Regions from separate parts of the Homo sapiens genome. Here region 1 is linked to region 2. Evidence: promoter capture Hi-C in human tissues and cell types (Jung and others, 2019). All regions are on one chromosome and are shown on one strand. Each heading gives the region's core, a stretch centred on a gene start or on the middle of the fragment in contact. The rest is flanking DNA. Distances are from core to core; before and after follow the strand shown.

Region 1 (6,888 bases), core at 323-2,822, 1.0 Mb before region 2:
CTAAACAAAGATTTTTTTTTCTTACATAGCAGTGAGTCCAGCAGTAATAGCTAGTGTTTTTATTTGCTCACTAATACCAACAAGAATTTAGACACTTTCCATTTTTCTGTCCTGACATGCTTCATTTGTTGACTTGAAAAAAAAAAGTGCTTGTCATTTATGGTTGCCATATGTATGTTGAAGGTAGGATAATGAAGGAGATACATTAGACTAGCCTTATTTATTCCATTTATCAGGAAAGTGAAAACTTTTCCAGAAACTACACAGGAGACATCCCTTATGATTTACTGGCCAAAACTGGGTCATTCTGGCTGCAAGGAAGCTTGGGAAAATGTCTCAAGCTTTCTTTTTTTTGTTGTTATGTGTTTTTTTTGTTTGTTTGTTTGTTTTTTGGAGATGGAGTATTGCTCTGTCGCCCAGGCTGGAGTGCAGTGGCGTGATCTCAGCTCACTGCAAGCTCTGCTTCCTGGGTTCACGCCATTCTCCTGCCTCAGCCTCCCGAGTAGCTGGGACTACAGCCGCCCGCCGCCACGCCCGGCTAATTTTTTTGTATTTTTAGTAGAGATGGGGTTTCACCATGTTAGCCAGGATGGTCTCAATCTCCTGACCTCATGATCTGCCCACCTCAGCCTCCCAAAGTGCTGGGATTACAGGTGTGAGCCACCACGTCCAGCCAAATGTCTCAAGCTTTCTAGCCTCTACAGTGGGAGATGGTGAAGAAGTGGGAAATCATTGTTGCACTTACTAGTGAACAGTTGCTGTCTGGCACAGCAGCTAACTCAACATGAAACCCAACTGCAGGACCTGAAGACCCTGTGGCCTGCAGTATTTATCAAAAATCTTCAGATTGGGGATTATAAAGTGAAGGTATCATTTGGGTGGAAAGGAGGAGGGTCGGAGAGGCAGCCAGTGCTTTATTTTTTTGTTTAAATGGTTTCGTATTATATATACGATAGGTCATTGCTAACAATGTGCAAACTGTTGAGGGAACATTGTATAAATTTATTTCTTGGAAAAGTTTATTTAGAGTTTTAGTGGAGAAGCTAGAGAAGAAAATACCATTTAATGTTATTTCTGTACTGCTATATTACATTTTAATATATGAATTACTCTATTTTTTAAAAATGATGGATAAACTACACTTCCCTTTAGTTGTTTTTATTCTGAGATAAATGCCTGTTTTGTAAATCATTGTTACCTGATTTTGGTAATCTCTATTAGAAAGAAATCTCTTTTTATTAATATCTGTATACTTAACTCAGACACTGGGAAATTCTTGCAAAATGCTTTACAAAAGCAGCCATTTTAAGCTGATTAAAAGTATATTCTATATGCATGTATGTAGTTGAAGTGCTACCAAACCACGTATGTATTTAGTTAACTAAACTCAAGAATCATGGAAGTTTGAAGAACTCCAAATCACAGCTAAGAATGCACTAAAGGAAAACCATATCTGTTTGACTCCAGCAAATTGACTCGTGTGATATTTTTGCTTACACCTTTCTGCAGCTTAACTGCTGAGTTAGCTGTTCTTTAATGTCCTTGACAAATTCAGGAAGTCATCACATGTAGATAAATTGAGAAAAATATTTCTGCCAATTTGGTCCTGATCATTTCTTCTTGGGGTTATAAATTTGGGTTTTCATGATCTAGATGTTAATAAAAAAGAACCCCAGATAATCTGAAGGGTTACTCCTCAATATTACTATGATAAGTTTAGGGTCTGTGAGTTGGCTGCCTACTGAGTACCTAAAAGCATGGGAACTTTTACAACATATAATCCAATACGTAATCACTTTGTCAGGCTGAGCAAGTTAGTGGAATCTTTAGTAATACTACGATAATTAAATAGTTAAGCTATAGGATAAAAGGCAAAACTGTTTTATTAGGGAAGACTATGCTTAGACAGTCTTTTAGAATGATTGAAAGGGTATATAGATATGAGAACCAGTCTGCTATTCCAAATAATCTAGTTAGGATTAAAAATAAAAATTTTGTCCAGATGCTGTATGAAAATCTACTTTATAGTAGGATTATAATTATTGCTTTGTTTTAATAGGGGACTCTTAGAGACAAGGAAGAAAAGAGTAGGGAAACCTATTTGTATAGGAAAATATAGTACATTTCCATTCAATATCTACCTATAATGTGAGAGATTATGCCAGACGCATTGAAATTGCTGTCTTTAATCTTCATCCCAATCTTATAAATTAGCTTTTGTTACCACTGTTTCCTTGATGAGGATGCCAAGTCCACACCAAATGACTTGCCTGAGATATGTATTCATTACATTTTGGAGTTGAGCTTTGAACCCAGCTCCGTCTGTGTTCCATACTCATTTCTTTTCCCTGTATCAGAAGATCCACCCACACTGGCCAACTGAGAAGAAAAATAGCAGATGGGCTTAAATATGGGTAAATGTATGATAATGTACTTAGTGAAGAAACACCTACCAAACTACTTATAGTTTATAGACTCTTAGGTGTTAATTTTAACTCATGAAAGAAACCTGGGAGTCATAGGTTTCTTTCTTAAATATGGGTAAATATATGATAATGTACTTAGTGAAGAAACACCTACCAAACTACTTATAGTTTATAGACTCTTAGGTGTTAATTTTAACTCATGAAAGAAACCTGGGAGTATAGGCTCTCTCAGCATGATTATTGTCTCTTCCCTACAGTCAATTCAGGAGGGTTTATTGAGGACCTACTTTGTGTGAGGATAAATATAGTGTTCTTGTACTTAAAGAACTTACATCTTTTCCTTCCTTCTGGCCGGGCGCAGTGGCTCACGCCTGTAATCCCAACACTTTGGGAGGCCAAGGCGGGCGGATCACAAGTTCAGGAGATCGAGACCATCCTGGCTAACACGGTGAAACCCCATCTCTACTAAAAATACAAAAAATTAGCCGGGCGAGGTGGCACACACCTGTAATCCCAGCTACTCGGGAGGCTGAGGCAGGGGAATGGCATGAACCCAGGAGGTGGAGGTTGCAGTGAGCTGAGATCATGCCACTGCACTCCAGCCTGGGTGACAGAGTGAGACTCTGTCTAAACAAAAAAAGAATTTACATATTTTCCCATAAGACATTTCTTATGTTCCCATAGTGAGAAAAATAACCCTGTAAAAACCTCTTTAAGCAATATCTCAATCTGTATGGCAAGGAAGATAGATGAGTGTACTCATGTATGATCGTGTACTGATTTGGAGTATGTTTTGGAAATGAAGACTAAAACTTTCACTTTAAAATAAGGTTACTTTTCTCTAAAGGAGGCATTTTCTTTGTAGAGTCATTATGATATTATTTCATAGCTATTAAAATTTGCTATCTTGATGCTTGGTTATTCACTGAAAGGAATGAAATATTTATTAAGGTCATATTACTGTTGTGTACAAAGGGAGCCACAGGGTGACTTTTATGCTATGCCTTTTTGGTAGCGGTGTTTCTGCTGGGTTGCATCAATGTCTGTAGATTTTATTGATTATAATTAAGTCAGTCTGCATTGTCTCTGAGAATTTACATGGCTTTAAAAATCAATCTCTCACATACTCATTTTTTGAAATAATTTGAAAAAGGATCTCAGTAGAAGGGACAAATCTACAACTATTAATCCTGTTGTTATTTGTTTGAGCCAAAAATGGTGTTATTTCTCATTAAAACATTTGCAGGTTTTAGGTGTTATGATCCTTTTAGTTTTCTTTTAATTTCATTTTCTCTACCACCAAGCTTTCAAAGGCATTTTACAGCTTATTTTTATCTCTGGTAGATTTCTGGGTATGCCTGGCAAAACCCCTAGCTCAAATCCTGAAGGTTATTTAAATTCCAGTGTTGGATGCTCTCCACATATATAGATTTTGATGTACACTTAATAAGATTAGGAAGATTTTATGCCAGTTGATACCTTGCATGTACATGATGGATCAGATAAAGGACCATCAGAGGGCTAGTGGGTCTGAGCTTTGATTGCAGGTAGTGGGGAACATTGTCAGAGCTTTTTTTGTGTTACTTTAGGTATACATTTTTAAGCCAAGTTTAGCACATATATTTATGTTAACTTGGGGCATTAATAATCATATAAGCTTGTGGAATTAACCCATACAGATATAGAAAAGCAAAGCCCTAATCAATAGTGCAAAGACCAGTTGTGATTTTTAAAAACCACTGCTTCTGTGGAAGTGCAAGCATTGACTTATGTTTACATTATTTTTCTAAAGCAACTGATTTCAGTGACACCTACTTCTGCCTAAATTGGCTGTCTCTGCGTGTGCATGTATATTAAAGGTATATATTGAGAGATATATTTGAAAAAGTTATAGTTTTTGAAATAAAAAATACCCTAGTAAATTGCCCTTTTATGATGGGGAATGATTAAATAAAACAGCATTATTTATAACATTAACTAGAATTAAATATACAGCTGGGTGAGACTTTGTTTGTTTGGAATTTCTTAAAGGAATTAGCTTCAGTTTCCTAAACTAGAGATATGTGAAGATTATGAACACCAACATATTCTTATGACCTTGATTTTTGAAGGTGTTCAATGAAAAATTCTTGGATTATATTCCTTAAAATTCAAAATATATTTGGAATACTCCAGGACTATTTCATGCTTGTAAGATGGAGGTTATGTATCTCTTTTCTAAGGCTTGAAAAATTAAGCCCTGGCTATAGCAATCTTGGTGTTGTCTACAAACCCACAGCTTTGGTCACAGTTTTTTGAAAACTTAATTATGAATGGCTGTTAAATATTTTTCATTTACCAACTTATCAGCATTTCCTTTTTTGCAGCAAGACTTACTTCCTTTGCTTATGGAAGGCCCTAAGTTTGTTTAGAAAACAAAGTCTGTCTTATCATAATTTTGTTGGTGAGAAGATGCAGCTATATAAAACAAAGAACAAACCTGTGAAACTTCTGCTCCTCCTATCAGGCTCTGTTTGTGGGAAGCCTAAATGCATAAAATAGCAACTTGTTAAACTTAGCCTTGACTCTGTTTAAGGGGATCTTTTATTTGCAAAATTTAGTCAATTCCTCCCTAAAGGAAAAAAAGTCATTTTAGTGGATCTTGAAAGCTTTTAGATAAATATTCCAAGTTTTTTTTCCCCTGCTGCTGCAAGCTTAAAAGGCAACATAGAAGGTCTGAAGCCTGGTTTTTCCAGCTGTGTAACAAGCACAGAAGAGAGGATTCTAAATATTTACTCCTTTTTCCTTCCCACTATTCTGTGTTCCAGTCAAACTTGATTTCTTGCTGTTTGTTTCCAGGACACTTCTCACCCTGCATTCTCTTAGTTTGTCCCCCCAAGGAATGCTCTTCTTTCCATCCTCACATCTCTGTCCAGTAGAATCCTATTTGTCATTCAATCTGCATTTAAAATGCTATCAGCTCTTCCTGAAGACTTTATGGACACCCCCAACCAAATGTGGAAAGGGGTCCACAATTTCCAGTGCAATTACCTTACCTACTTTTTGGCTGGACTCAGTACTCTCATTCTACCTTGTGTGTTAGGTGTTCGTGTACTCAGTAATGTTCGGTGGTCAACCGATATTTACTAAATGCCCCTTATTGTCAAACACTGTGTTACTTACTGGGGAAAGCGAACGGTTTAAAACATGGCCCATGATGTCAGTAACCTCTTTCTTGTTTTTTTTCTCCCCAACTTGGTTCTGAATTCCCAGTTGGTAGAAATGGCCTTATAATTCTTTGGTGTTCTCTGTGAATCCTGGCTTCTTGCACATAGTAGCTGCTCAAGAAATGGTCATTGAGCCATATTAGTTGAGTAAACCAGTTTTCTTCTGATTGAATTTGAACAGCAAAGATTTTTAGCTTTCTTCTTTGGTATTTAAATAAAAGTAATGTTATTTGTTCTATTTGCCATTATATTGTGATTTTTGGTGGTACAGAAAGGAAGATTTTTCCCATTACCCCTACCATGTAGTCGTTGGGCATTTGTTGTTTGGAAGGCATGGTAAATTAGCACAGGTCAGGCAGTCAATTTTATTGAGTACCTGTAGGCACTGTGTTGGCCTCCTCATCTGGCTATATAGAGCTACCCTGGAGATCCTCATGCATAGACAACTGTCTGACTGCAACCTCTGGACACCATCAGCTGTGGCTTTCATCAAGTTCCCAAAGGCATCCTTGACCCCAGAGGTTAAGTGAATGAATCTCACACCTGTCTCCCTGAAAGATTTCTAAAATGTCAGTGGCATTTGGACAGGTTCACAGCTGCTCTGATCCACAGCATTTTCTAGAACTTCCTTTTACCTCGATGGGGGAGGAGGAATGCCTGTGAACTTGAGCTGACCTTCAAGACGCTGTAGGGCTCTTGGGCAAATTATGGACAAGACCTACATTGTTAGGATAGGCCCAGAAATCCAGCTTGCTAATAAATAGCCTTGGGAGGTGCTCACAGTCGAGTCATAGCATTTGGCATTTCCCTGTACTCTAGCCTGTGTAGGATTTCTGGATGCTTAGGACTGTAACCAAACTTGAACTCTTGCCTGGGAATATGCCCTCCCCCACACCCCCAGACCTTTTTTTGCCATCTAAATGACAAAGATAACTATCAGTAACATTTTGAACTTTCCTACAAAATTGCATTCTTCGTGGTGTATAGTAGGAAGCATTTCTTTACCTTGGAACTTTAGAAGAGGGTCTGAACTGAGCAAAAATTAGTGTCCCTGCCTTTTTAACGGCTGGACACTTATCACAAAGCTGTGCCAACATCAGTGATGGTGCACCCACAAAGGTGTTTGGTCTTGATAAGCTTCTAAAGAAGCAGACTTTGTTGTTGTTTTAAACAGTAATGAACTGTTTCAGTTTCATAAAAAAAAAAGAGACATTCTTTCTTAAATAGAAAAGGGCAGAAAGTTTATAGAGAATAAT
Region 2 (6,135 bases), core at 3,636-6,135:
ATATAGATATTCTAACACCAAACATTTATATGTTTTTGCCATTATAATTGTGACCGTAATTATTTTTATCTCCTATTAAGATGTATTGAAATGTAAAATAAAACATACATCTAACTTATCTTTAAATTCCATTAATATTGTAAATGTTCTCAAATATTAGTTACTAATGGACAGAATTTTACAATACTTCATGAATATTTTTTAAAAAGGCCAGGCATGTTGACTCACGCCTGTAACTCCAGCACTTTGGGAGGCCGAGGTGCGTGGATCACCTGGGGTCAGGAGTTTGAGACCACCCTGGCCAACATGGTGAAACCCCAACTGTACCAAAAATACAAAAATTAGCTGGGCATGGTGGTGCATGCCTGTAGTCCAAGCTACTTGGGAGGCTGAGGCAGGAGAATCGCTGGAACCCGGGAGGTGGAGGTTGCAGTGAGCCGAGATTGCACCATCGCACTCCAGCCTGGGCAACAAAATCAAAACTCCGTCTCAAAAAAAATAATAATAATTAAAAACAACAACAACAAGCTCTTTCTGCCGTCTTACTGTGCCACCATAATGGTGCACATAAATGTCCTGGCAGATGTTCTCAAGAGCATCAACAATGCTGAAGAGAGAGGCAAAGGCTAGGTTCTTATTAGGCTTTGCTCCAAAGACAACATCTGGTTTCTCACTCTGATGATGAAGCATGTTCAAATGTTCAAATTTGAACATTGGCAAATTTGAGGTCATCGATGATCACAGAGCTGGGAAAATTGTTGAGAATCTCTCAGACAAGGTTACACAAGTGTGCAGTGATCAGGCCCAGATTCGACATATAACTCAAAGATCTAGAAAAATGGCAGAATAATCTCTTCCCTTCCCCTCTGTTTGGTTTCATTGTACTGACAACCTCACCTGACATCATGGGCCATGAAGAAGCAAAATGAAAACACACAGCGAGTAAAATCCTGGAATTCTTTTTCTAGGGATGTAATACACATGTACAAATAAAATGCTTCAGTGGACAAACAAAACAAAACAAAGCAACTGTTTAGGCCAACTTATCTGCTGGAAGTTCTCCAAGTACCGTAGAGGCAGCATGCACCAGCATCAAGGCCTCTGCTGTAGGACACCACCACCTCACTAGCCTATTCCCTTTGCCACCAGCCAGCTCCACTTCTTCATATAAATAGGCCTTGATTGGCCCATTGGAACCCAGAACCCAGTCTTTTTACCCCAAATCTAGTAGCATAGGGCTGGAAGTGAAATATAATAAGGATGGGGCACAGCACCTCTTTCATAATTTTTTTTTTTTTTGAGATGGAGTCTTGCTCTGTCGCCCAGGCTGGAGTGCAGTGGTGCAATCTTGGCTCTTACGGGTTCTATGCCATTCTCCTGCCTCGGCTTCCTGAGTAGCTGGGACTACAGGGGCCAGCCACCAAGCCTGGCTAATTTTTTTATATTTTTAGTAGAGACGGGGTTTCACCGTGTTAACCAGGATGTTCTCGATCTTCTGAGCTCGTGATCTGCCCGCCTCCGCCTCCCAAAGTGCTGGGATTACAGGCGTGAGCCACCGCACCCCGCCCATAATGTTTAACCTTGCCTTTTACTTAAAAGAATTCCGGGAACTGGCTTTAGGAAATCTAAATATTAAACTAAGGTTGTGGAGTGTCCCACCTCAGGAAGAAATGCTGAACAATTGATTTACAGCCTTGTTGCTGTTCGCCAGACCACCAGGTGGGTGATCCATTACTCAATAAAGCCATCAAAACCAGATAAGGCTGACCCGCATACTCTACCCCTCATGTGCTTTGCCCAGCCCAACCTGCATACTCTACCCCTGATTGTCTAATAAAGCAGAGTTAGTCAGGTAGTCCTCTCCGTTATGTCTGTGCATAAGCTCTAACAAGCCTTGTATGGGAACACTCCTTCAGCCTCATGTCAATTTCTATTGCACTGAGAGCCCAAGAACACGTGATCTTAAGTAACAGAAGGCTTTAACCTTTAAAAAATCTAATCACAGTAATCTTATTACACTGAAATTAACAGTTATTCTTTTTCTTTTTCGAGACGGAGTCTCGCTCTGTCGCCCACGCCGGAGTGCAGTGTCATGATCTCGGCTCACTGCAAGCCCCACCTCCCGGGATCACGCCATTCTCCTGCCTCAGCCTCCGGAGTAGCTGGGACTACAGGCGCCGGCCACCACGCCCGGCTAATTTTTTTGTATTTTTTAGTAGAGACGGGGTTTCACCGTTTTAGCCAGGATGGTCTCGATCTCCTGACCTCGTGATCCGCCCCGCCTCGGCCTCCCAAAGTGCTGGGATTACAGGCGTGAGCCACCGCGCCCAGCCCAACAGTTATTCTTAATATCATCAAATATCCAGTCAGTGTTCAAATTTTCGTTTTTTTTGTTTGTTTGAGACAGGGTCTTGCTCTGTCACCCAGGCTGGAGTGCAGTGGCACGATCTCAGCTCACTGCAACCTCCGTTTCCCAGGTTCAAGCGATTCGCCTGCCTCAACCTCCTGAGTAGCTGGGATTACAGGCACACACCACAACGCCTGGCTAATATTTGTACTTTTATAAGAGATGGGGTTTCACCATATTGGCCAGGCTTACCTCAGGTCTTAAACTCCTGACCTCAGGTGATCCACCTGCCTTGGACTCCCAAAGTGCTGGGATTACAGGCTTGAGCCACCTTGCCCAGTTTTTTTTTTTTTTTTTTTTAGACAAGGTCTTGCTCTGTCACCCAGGCTGGAGTGTAGTGGTGTGATTGTAACTGCCCAATGGGTTCACCTTGCCCACTGCCTACACAGAGCCCATTTATCAAGACAGGGGAATTGCAATAGAGAAAGAGTAATTCACACAGAGTGGGCTGTGTGGGAGACCAGAGTTTTATTACTCAAATCAATCTCCCCAAGCATTCAGGGATCAGAGTTTTTAAGGACAACTTGGTGGGAGGGGGGAAGCCAGTGAGCTGGGAGTGCTGATTGGTCAGATCAGAGATGAAATCATAGGGAGTCAAAGCTGTCTTCTTGCGCTGAATCAATTCCTGGGTGGGGGCCACCAAGATCATATCAGCCAGTTTATTGATCTGGGTGGTACCAGCTGATCCGTCAAGTGCAGGATCTGCAAAATATCTGTGGAATATCTCCCTGGTCTTAGGTTTTGCAGTAGTGGTCTTATCCCCAGAAGCCATTTGGGGAGAGTCAGAGTCTTGTAGCCTCCAGCTGCATGACTCCTAAACCATAATTTCTAATCCTGTGGCTAATTTGTTAGTACTGCAAAGGCAGTCTAAATCCCCAGGGTTTGTTTCGGGAAAGGGCTGTTATCATCTTTGTTTTAAACTATGAACAAGTGATCCTCCCACCTCAGCCTCCCAAAGTGCTGGGATTTTAGGCAGTAAGAAGAAATAAGGGATTAAAAGCAAAAGACCGAATTCTCTTTGTTTATTCATATGCTGTGTATTGACTGAACTACCAGATATTGAGGCTTCTTTGCTTATTAGCTGCATGACTTTGGGCAAGTCAAGTTCCACCTGAGCCTTGCAAGTCAGGCCTGGGGAGTCCAACCACCCAGAACCTTTGAGTCTCTGTTAGAGAGCAAGACCCTCTCTTAAGAAACAAAAATAAAACAAAAAAAGAGTATTGGGATATGGGGAGTTTGGCTCCTGTAGAAAGGGTAGTCTGGGAGGCCTGTTAGAGGAGTTAACATTGGACCTGAGACCTGAGGATGAACAGAAGCCATCCTGAAAGAACTGGGAAAATAAAGAGGTGGCCAGGCGTGGTGGCGCACGCCTGTAATCCCATCACTTTGGGAAGCTGAGGTGGGCGGATCACCAGGTCAGAAGTTCAAGACCAGCCTGACCAACATGGTGAAACCCCCCTCTACTAAAAATACAAAAACTAGCCAGGCGTGGTGGCATGGGCCTGTAATCTCAGCTACTCAGGAGGCTGAGGCAGGAGAAATCGCTTGAATCCAGGAGGCAGAGGTTGCAGTGAGCCGAGATTGCGCCACTGCACTCCAGCCTGGGTGACATAAGAAAACTCTGTCTCAAAAAGAAAAAAAAAAAATACAAAAATTTTCCGGGAGTGGTGGCGTGCTCCTGTAATCCCAGCTACTTGGGAGGCTAAGGCAGGAGAATTGCTTGAACCCAGGAGGCCGGGGTTGCAGTGAGCCAAGATCATGCCACTGCACTCCAGCTGTGGCAACAGAGACTGTCTCAAAAAAAAAAAAAAAGAAAGAAAGAAAGAAAGAAAAAGAAAAAAATAACTCGCAGAGGAAACAGCCAGTGCAAGGGCCCTGAGGCAGGTAGTTCCGTGTTTTTTGAGGAACAGAAAGAGAGTGTTTCTGTTGTAAGAGTAGTGCTAAGACAATGTTGAAGGGGCAGTCCGGATAGAATGAGAAGGTAGAAATTTAACCGAAACAGGAAGCCACTGAACAGTATTGGAGGGGGAGAAGGATTACAGAGGGGTCGTGGGAGAGGCCAGGGAGCAGTTGGAGGTGATTTCAGTGATCCAGGTGAGAGACAACGGGGGCTTGGACTGGGCTGGAGCTGTGGAGTTGGAGAGACGCCGGCAAATTCAAGGACTTAGGAATGGATTAACTGCGAGGGTTGAAGAAAAGGAATGAGGTGACCTTGGGGTTCAGGCCTGGGTGATGAGGCGCTTTAGTGGTGCCTTTATTCAGATTTGAGTCTGGAGTCGGGTCTGAGGGGTGGGGCTCGTTCAAGCGGAGGCACGGTGGAGACAGAGGGAATTGGACTCAGTCGGGGGGCAGCAATGGAAGTCAGCAATTGCTTAGGGCGGAATGCGATTTCCGGGGAGGAGGCGCGGGTATGTAGACAGAGGGGGTTGGGACACACCAGGAGGGGAGGAGCCAGCCCCAGAGATCGGGAATCCTCTCAGTCCTTAGTTACAAGGCTCCATCCTCACTTTGTTCGCTCCTCAGTCGTCCAGGCGGATTCCTTTTTCGCCAGGTAAGGCTGGCCCGGGTGCATGGGGCCCGGCGTGCCCTGGGTAAGGCTGGCCCAGGCGCGTGGGGTCCGGGGCGCGCCGGGTAAGGCTGGGCCAGGCGCGTGGGGTCCGGGGTGCCCCGGGTAAGGCTGGTCCAGGGGCGTGGGGTCCGGGGTGCCCCGGGTAAGGCTGGTCTAGGCGCGTGGGGTCCGCAGCGCCCCAAGTAAGGCTGGTCCAGGAGCGTGAGGTCCAGGGTGCCCCGGATAAGGCTGGTCCAGGCGCGAAGGGCGCGGGGTGCCCCGGGTAAGGCTGGCCCAGGTACGTGAGGCCCGAGGTGCCCCAGGCAAGGCTGATCCGGGTGCGTGCGTGGGGCCCGGGTAGGGGCAGGCAGTTGGCCCCCTCACTTGACTCCCTGCTCTTTCCCTTACTGTCCGTGGCGCAATGAGAAAAAAACTCTCCTAAGACTTATCTATCCCCAAATTGGAAACATGAAAGTAGTTCTGTGAAGAAAAAATAAAGTCAAGAAAATGAGGTGGTGCTTGACAAGTCCTAGCTTTAGAAAAAGGATGGAGGGGCCGGGAGCAGTGGCTCACGCCTGTAATCCCAGCACTTTGGGAAGCCGAGGCGGGCGGATCACCTGAGGTCGGAGTTCGAGACCATCCTGACCAACATGGAGAAACCTCGTCTCTACTAAAAATACAAAATTAGCCAGGCGTGGTGGCGCATGCCTGTAATCCTAGCTACTCAGGAGGCTGAGGCAGGAGAATCGCTTGAACCCGAGAGGCAGAGGTTGCACTGAGACGAGATCGCGCCATTGCGCTCCAGACTGGGCAACAGGGGCGAAACTGTCTCAAATAAAAAAAGATGGAGGGCCGGGCGTGTTATTTTCCAGCACTTTGGGAGGCCGAGGCGGGGGCGGATCACGAGGTCAGGAGATCGAGACCATCCTGGCCAACTTGGGAAACCCCGTCTCTACCAAAAATACAAAATTAGCCGGGTGTGTTGGCTCGCGCCTGTAGTCCCAGCTACTAGGGAGGCCGAGGCAGGAGAATCGCTTGAACCGGGGAGGCGGAGGTTGCAGTGAGCCGAGATCGGGCCACTACACTCCAGCCTGGGCGGCAGAGCGAAACTCCGTCTCAAAAAAAAAAAAAAGTGTTTAATTATGTGACTGGAAAAATTGATTTGGAAGTAATAACTTTT

The links. The method cuts DNA at HindIII sites, captures the fragments that hold promoters and counts their contacts. A contact is called where the count stands out against the background at its distance.
Region 1: a fragment that was not itself captured here is called in contact with the fragment with the promoter of L1TD1 in region 2 in 1 of the 25 tissues and cell types used here (hippocampus).

The regions. Positions count from the first base shown.
Region 1 is chr1:61,164,085-61,170,972 of GRCh38, forward strand. The region is part of intron 2 of NFIA (nuclear factor I A); the gene reads left to right. Among named protein-coding and RNA genes, the nearest start is that of NFIA, 85 kb to the left of the region's middle. The HindIII fragment of the contact is 4,667 bases long and covers 1-3,906 here.
Region 2 is chr1:62,189,964-62,196,098 of GRCh38, forward strand. It overlaps L1TD1 (LINE1 type transposase domain containing 1), which reads left to right and starts at 4,886. Exons shown (of 4, transcript NM_019079.5): 1 at 4,886-4,958. It also overlaps the pseudogene RPS15AP7. RefSeq lists enhancers at 4,029-4,885, 4,886-5,741. The HindIII fragment of the contact is 18,338 bases long and covers 1-6,135 here.